2 separate regions of the Homo sapiens genome follow, and region 1 is linked to region 2. The links are contacts of gene promoters, found by promoter capture Hi-C in human tissues and cell types (Jung and others, 2019). All regions are on one chromosome and are shown on one strand. Each heading gives the region's core, a stretch centred on a gene start or on the middle of the fragment in contact. The rest is flanking DNA. Distances are from core to core; before and after follow the strand shown. Region 1 overlaps ITPR1 (inositol 1,4,5-trisphosphate receptor type 1). Region 2 holds the start of SUMF1 (sulfatase modifying factor 1).

Region 1 (3,748 bases), core at 1,171-3,670, 140 kb after region 2:
AAGGAATGTGTTCATTAGGGGTACGTTGAATATGTACAGATGTCAAAACTATATGAGGCCATGGCCCACCTCACACGTGGTCGGGGCTGGATGGGAAATGCTGGGATGGAGGGGGAAGGACTCTGGTGCTCAGGGCTGGGTCACAACGTATTCAATGGAGAACATGGAGGGATGGAATGGGACAGATGGGGTGGTGGCTTGGCCACCTCACATGTGGTCGGGGCTGGTTGGAAATGCTAGAATAGAGAGGGAAGGACCTTGGTGCTCAGGGCTGGGTCACCACGTATTCAATGGACAACATAGAGGAATAGAACAGGACAGAGCTTCCTTTGGTCCTTCTTGTCTCTCTGTGGAGAAACGGGGCCAAACCAGCAGTGACAGCTCTGCTCAGCCTGCCATGTTGCCTTGAACTCTGAGAGCAGGACACGTGAGGAAAAGGCACTGTTGCGGACTAAGGGATGCCCGGCCCAGATGAGCAAGGGAGGGGGGACCAGGTCAGCTGTACTTGATGTTTCCATTCTACATGGTGGGCTGTATCAAGAAGTCTGGCCCACTGCACAGAAAATTCATTCTAGGGCCACTGTGCTGGCTGGAATGCAACAGATTTCTGTGGCATCTCATTCTTTGCTTGTCATCATCCATCCCTCTTCCTGTCCCACCCATTGGCTTGTCCAGTGGATCCTGCAAAGCTCAAATGAGAAACCTTCTTACTGCCTCTCCCATCTCTACCTGGGCTGGGTTAGTGCTCCTCTGTGCGCCAGACACCTTGGAGTTTCCTGTTGGTTCCTCCCTCTCCCTGATGACACTCGGGGACCAGGTTTTATTGACTTTGTATCTGCAGCACACAAGCACTTAATAATTGTTTGAATGAGAGAGAAATAAAATTGCTTCAAGAGAGACAGTCTGCTCTTCCTTTGTGTAGTGGGAGTTCCTGATAGGAAAAGAGTTTTTCCTGGAGGATCTCGATGACCAAGCCAATAGCTTATGTAATTCCTTTCATGCCAGCTGCTCCAGGCTTTCTGAATGCCCTTTTGTAGATGTGGCATATCCTCAGAGATTCTTAAGTATTGTCATTTTTTTTTAAATAGCCAGCGGAATGCACAGGGAAATTTCATTTGCCTTTAATGAGGTACTGAGAGGTACTGAGGATGTAGAGTTCTCCTCAGCAAAGGGTTTAACCCGAAGTCCATGGTTACTGTTTGTTACTCACAGATCTAACTTAGGGCAGGGCATTCTCATTTTTTTTGTGCACCACTTATTCCACAGGTCCGCCCAGCTATGGCCTCCTTTCCAGAACATACTGGTTTTCAGGTGGAGTGGCAAATTTTCTTTTTCCTTCCCTTTCTCTTTCCCTTTCCTGTTCCCTTTCCCTTTCCTTTCCTCTCTCTCCCCTTCCCCCTTCCCCCCCTTCTCCTTCTCCTTCCCTTCCCTTCCCTTCCCCTTCCTCTTCCCCTTCCCCTTCCCCTTCCCCCTTCCCCCTCCTTCTCCTTCTCCTTCTCCTTCCCTTCCCTTCCCTTCCCCTTCCCCTTCCTCCCTCCCTCCCTCCCTCCCTCCCTCCCTCCCTTCCTTCCTTCCCTTTCTGTCTGTCTGTCTTTCTTGACTTAAAGAAAAATAACTGCCAGCCATGGTGGCTCACGCCTGTTATCTCAGCACTTTGGGAGGCTGAGGAGAGTGGATTGCTCAAGCACAGGAGGTTGAGACCAGCCTGGGCAACATGTCAAAACCTCATCTCTACAAAAAAAAAAACAAAAAAAAAACTATATATGTACAAAAATTAGCCCAGCTGAGTGCAGTGGCTCACGCCTGTAATCCCAGCACTTTGGGAGGCCAAGGCGCGTGGATTACTTGAGGTCAGGAGTTTGAGACCAGCTTGGCCAACATGGTGAAACCCCGTCTTTACTAAAATTAGAGAATTTAGCTGGGCATGGTGGCACGCACCTGTAATCCTAGCTACTTGGGAGGCTGAGGCAGGAGAATGGCTTGAACCCAGGAGGCAGAGGTTGCAGTGAGCCGAGATCACGCCACTGTACGCCAGCCTGGGTGACAGAGCGAGACTCTCTCTCAAAAATAAATAAATAAATAAATAAATAAATAAATAAATTAGCAGGTGTCGTGGCATGTGCGTGTAGTTCCAGGTACTCGGGAGGCTGAGGTGAGAGAGTCACCTGTTCAGAGGGAGGCCGCGGCTGCAGTGAGCTGAGATCATGCCACTGCACTCCAGCTTGGGTGCCAGCGAGACCTTCTCTCAAAAAATAAACGAAAATAAACTTGCTTTGAATTCAATGAATACTTGCTTGGTTTTTATGAAAATTTTACACTTGAAAATAAATTTCATAGATGATTTTTAAAACTTCCTATTGTAAAAATAATTTAAGCCTATTTATGAATCAAGAGAATAAAAGTACAATGACTCTCCATGCACAGTGGCTTTCCATGTCTGAAGGTTCCAATCCACAGATTCAACCAACCTCAGGTCAAAAATACTCAGAAACCACCTCCCCCAAATAGTAATACAACAATTAAAAATAATACAAATAAAATTATAGCATAACAAGTGTATCAGGCCCTTTTTTTTTTTTTTTTTTTTGAGATGGAGTCTCACTCTGTCACCCAGGCTGGAGTGCAGTCCATGTCGGCTCACTGCAAGCTCTGTCTCTTGTGTTCAAGCAATTCTCCTGCCTCAGCCTCCCGAGTAGCTGGGATTACAGGCGCCCACCACCACGCCTGGCTAATTTTTATACATTTAGTAGAGACAGCGTTTCACCATGTTGGCCAGGCTGGTCTCGAGCTCCTGACCTCAGGTGATCCGCCTGCCTCGGCCTCCTAAAGTGCTAGGATTACAGGCGTGAGCTGCCGCACCTGGCCACTATATCAGGCACTTTTGAGCATCTGTGGATTATGGAATCCAAGGGGTGTCCTGGGCCCAATCCCCCATGGATACCAAAGGACAATGGCAGTACCTCAACACCCACCTTTAACAATGACCAACTCATGGCTAATCTTGTTTTTTTCTATATCCCCCCACTTCTGTCCCCCTGATCATTTTGAAGTACATGTCAGACATCATCTCATTTCATTAGAGATTACATTTTAAAACTGCTGCTTATTGTCTGGGCATGGTGGCTCATGCCTGTAATCCCAGCACTTTTGGAGGCCAAGGCAGGCGGATCACCTGAGGTCAGGAGTTTGAGACCAGCCTGGCCAACGTGGCGAACCCCCGTCTCTACTAAAAATACAAAAATTAGCCAGGTGTGGTGGTGGGGGCCTGTAATCCCAGCTACTGGGGAGGCTGAGACAGGAGAATTGCTTGAACCCAGGAGGCGGAGGTTGCAGTGAGCCAAGATCCTGCTCCTGCACTCCAGCCTGGGTGACAGAGTGAGACTGCATCTCAAAACAAACAAAAGTAACAAAACTGCTGCTTATTAATGTTTTAAAGCTGTCTGGATATGTGAATCCCAAATATCAGAGACAGATCTCAGTCAAATTAGAAAGTTTATTTTGCCAAGGTTAAGGACGTGCCTGTGACACAGTCTCTGGAAGTCCTGAGACATGGGCCCAAGGTGGTTGGGGGTACAGTTTGCTTTTATACGTTTTAGAGAGACATGAGACATTAATCAATATGTGTAAGATGTACGTTGGTTGGGTCCAGTAATTTGGGACAACTCAAAGTGGGGGCTTCCAGGTTAGGAGTAGATAAGAGACAAAAGGTTGCATTCTTCTGAGTCCTTTGTCAGTCTTCCACTAAATA
Region 2 (3,821 bases), core at 1,064-3,563:
CTATAGGGATGAAAAATGTACATCTTGTAAATGTAATCCAAAAGATTCTAACATCCACATCCCATTCTGGAACCCAGAGGAAAATAGAATGTTTAAAAATGAAAAATGTTCAATGCTTGCCAGAGGAATCTAGATAAAATTTTGAGACAGACCAATGTATATATGCAAATGAGATGGCTGCCCTATTAAAAAATAGATAAACAGATGTAAGGATTTCTCCTTAGAAAGAGGGACAGACTGGCTTGGCGCGGTGGCTCACGTTTGTAATCCCAGCACGCTGGGAGGCCAAGGCAAGCGGATCACAAGGTCAGGAGATTGAGACCATCCGGGCCAACATGGTGAAACCCCATCTCTATTAAAAATACAAAAATTAGCTGGGTATGGTGGCGTGTGCCTGTAATCCCAGCTACTTGGGAGGCTGAGGCAGGAAGGAGAATCATTCGAACCCAGGAGGTGGAGATTGCAGTGAGCGGAGATCGCGCCACTGCACTCCAGCCTGGTGACAGAGCGAGACTCCGTCTAAAAAAAAAAAAAAGAAAAGAAAAAAGAAAGAGAGATTGATTATCAATTACCAGGCAAGTTAGAGAGGAATTAATATCAAGTATGGCCAATACACACTAAAACAGTAATCAGGAGTCTTCAACACACAAAAGATAAACAGTACTGCAGGACATGCTCTAAGGGTAACAGGAAAAAAAGTAAAGGCCAAAAATTATACAGGATGGAAAAACAATGAGAAGCCCAGGTATCAACCTCCTACACTCTACACCTGAGAGACTAAATCATGGTCCTGACCCCATCACCCTCACAGTCCAGTTGGGGAGAGACATCAGCAGAAAAACATCTTTAATAATTGTTATGTCAGAATAAACACATAACTACTGAGGCAGGATACGGAAATATTGAAGGGGAGAGAAAGAGGAGATCAGGTAAAACCTACTGTGGATGTTACCTCTCACCTAAGTCCTAAATATTGGTCAGGATTAACCCAAAGGAAAGAAAAATGGAATGGGAAAAGGATAGTGTCTGCTAAGTAAACAAGAAGGAGCACTAGTTTAGGAGTCAGAAGACCTGACCTTTAGACCCATAAGTTGTTTCGACAACACATCAATATGCAAAATACCGGGCAGACAGATTGAAGTAACAGTTATTTCTTTCTTTCTTTTTTTTTTTCGAGACGGAGTCTCGCCCTGTCGCCCAGGCTGGAGTGCAGTGGCAAGATCTCGGCTCACTGCAACCTCCGCCTCCCGGGTTCCAGCAATTCTCCTGCCTCAGCCTCCCGAGTAGCTGGGATTACAGGCGCCCGCCACCACGCCCGGCTAATTTTTGTATTTTTAGTAGAGACGGGGTTTCGCCATGTTGGCCAGGCTGGTCTCGAACTCCTGACCTCGTGATCCGCGCGCTTCGGCCTCCCAAAGTGCTGGGATTACAGGCATGTGAGCCACCGCGCCCGGCCAGTAAGTTATTTATATATCCCGGCACCTAACACATACAGGCGCTAAGCAAGACAGATAAATAATAGCAATAAAACAACTACAGTTTGCTTAGCCCTTCCTAAGTGCTAAAGTGCTAAGAATAGCAGGATAAACAATTCAAGCCCTTGTCCTCAAGCAGAGTGTACTCGAGGAGACTACAGATAAGTATACAACAACCCTGGTGAAGATACTGAGACCCAGGATCCTAATTTATTCCGTTAATAAGAGAGGAAATGGTGATTTAAACCATAATTTGATTGCCTTAAAATTATGAGATCCTCATTAAGAGAACAGGTTGGAGGGAGAAAGAAATAGGGGGTAAAGAAGTAACAATAACCCTCAAACCAAACTCCCTAATGGTCAATTAAATGGAGTCTTCCGGTGAGGCACGGAGAAGGAACTCCTCATACGGGAACAGCAGGTGCTCGATTTGGGGTGTGGTTATAACCTTTACTTCCCTTCCTACTAGTGCCTTGCTTTGCCTACTCCAACCCCGTCCAGGAACCGAGCAGCCCCCACCCGCCTCGGAGGAATCGATGGAGCACCTTTGAGTGCGCGAGTTGCCGCTCTCCGGGTACGGGGCCCGGAGCGTTAGCCTCCCGCGAGTATCGGTGAGCGGCTGCCGAACTGCCATGGGCGCCAGGCCGCTGGGGCGTGCCGCAGCCGCAAGAACCCGCAAGGGACCCCGCGCCCGCACCGGTCCCGGCCTCCTGGCTCCCTGCCGCTCCACACAGCAGCGAGAGCAGCAGCAGCAAGAGGACGAGACCCAGCTCAGGGCAACGTCCACACACCAGCCCTAGTGCGGGCGCAGCCATGTTGTCCCGCGGGCCATGTGACCCGGTTGGTCACGTGGCTGAGCCCTCCTTAAAGGGGCAGAATTTTGAGCTGACTTACGAAGTGACCAGGAGAGTTGCTCTTCACCTTTCTTCAGGTACTTCTTTGGCGCTGCTGCTTGCCTGTGCTAACGTCAAAACGCAGCAAAACACAAAACTCCACAAAACTCAAGGCCTTCCACAGACCGTGCACCCCTTTATGATTTCTTGGTTGAAAAATAACAGTCAAATTTGCTGGGCATTTGGTAAGTGCCAGAGTACTATGCTAAGCACTTCACTTTTTAAAATCTCATTTAATCCTCACAAAGACCCAGTAATGGCGCGCTTGTAGTCCCAGCTAGTCGGGAGGCCAAGGCAGGAGAATCGTTTGAACCTGGGAGGCGGAGGTTTCAGTGAGCCCAGATCCCGCCACTGCACTCCAGCCTCGGCGACAGAGCAAGACTCCGTCTCAAAAAAAAAAGAGAAATACAATACGGAATCAGAATCCGTGGGGACTGGACACAGCAATCCAGGGTTTCACAAGCTCTCCAGATGATTCTAATCCACACTTAAGTTTAAGAACCACTGTTCTACAGTTCCGTAATCGAACAAAATGCAAAACCAAAACAAAAAGAAGATGAAGGAGAAACTTACAGATTAAAAAACAACATAGCAGGCCGGGCGCGGTGGCTCAAGCCTGTAATCCCAGCACTTTGGGAGGCCGAGGCGGGTGGATCACGAGGTCAGGAGATCGAGACCATCCTGGCTAACACGGTGAAACCCCATCTCTACTAAAAAATACAAAAAATTAGCCCGGCGTGGTGGCACGCGCCTGTAGTCCCAGCTACTCGGGAGGCTGAGGCAGGAGAATGGCATGAATCCGGGAGGTGGAGCTTGCAGTGAGCCGAGATGGCGCCACCGCACTCCAGCCTGGGGACAGAGCAAGACTCCATCTGAAAAAAAAAAAAAAAAAAAAAACATAGCAGCCAGCTGCAATATGTGAACCTTATCTAAATACTAATTCAAACCTACTGAGTTCAAAATTTTTGAGATAATCAGGGAAATTTAACCACTAAGTCAAATTATAATATTTGATAAAATTAAGGAATTGCTGTAAATTTTGTTTTTAGGCTTTTAGGAGTAATAATGGTATTTGTGGCTATATTTTTTAAAAGAATCCCCTCACTGAGGTACACACACACTCACTGAGGTATACACACACACACACACACACACACACATATATATATATGGATAAAAATATAGGCAGTCAAAGATTTGCTTCCCAAAAAATGGGTAATCAGGGTCTGGCTAAAGATGAAGCATGATTGGCCATGAGTTGATAACTGTCATAGCTGGTTGATGGGCATCTGGGTGTTTATTGCACTATTCTAATGTAGCATCTGTTTGAATTTTTTTAGCATAAAGAAAAGACCAGCCAGGCACCGTGTCTCAAGCCTGTAATCCCAGCACTTTAGGAGGCCGAGGCAGGAGAATCGCTAGAGGCCAGGAGCTTGAGACCAGCCTGGGCAAC

The links. The method cuts DNA at HindIII sites, captures the fragments that hold promoters and counts their contacts. A contact is called where the count stands out against the background at its distance.
Region 1: a contact is called between a fragment that was not itself captured here and the fragment with the promoter of SUMF1 in region 2, in 1 of the 25 tissues and cell types used here (mesendoderm cells).

The regions. Positions count from the first base shown.
Region 1 is chr3:4,609,497-4,613,244 of GRCh38, forward strand. All of the region lies in intron 4 of ITPR1 (inositol 1,4,5-trisphosphate receptor type 1), which reads left to right. Among named protein-coding and RNA genes, the nearest start is that of ITPR1, 120 kb to the left of the region's middle. The HindIII fragment of the contact is 6,185 bases long and covers 1-3,748 here.
Region 2 is chr3:4,464,956-4,468,776 of GRCh38, forward strand. SUMF1 (sulfatase modifying factor 1) reads right to left here and starts at 2,314. Exons shown (of 9, transcript NM_182760.4): 1 at 2,021-2,314. The coding sequence starts at 2,290. LOC124909340 (a long non-coding RNA gene) reads left to right here and starts at 1,869. Exons shown (of 2, transcript XR_007095789.1): 1 at 1,869-2,553; 2 at 3,709-3,821. RefSeq lists a silencer at 2,011-2,190 and an enhancer at 2,361-2,540. The HindIII fragment of the contact is 11,378 bases long and covers 1-3,821 here.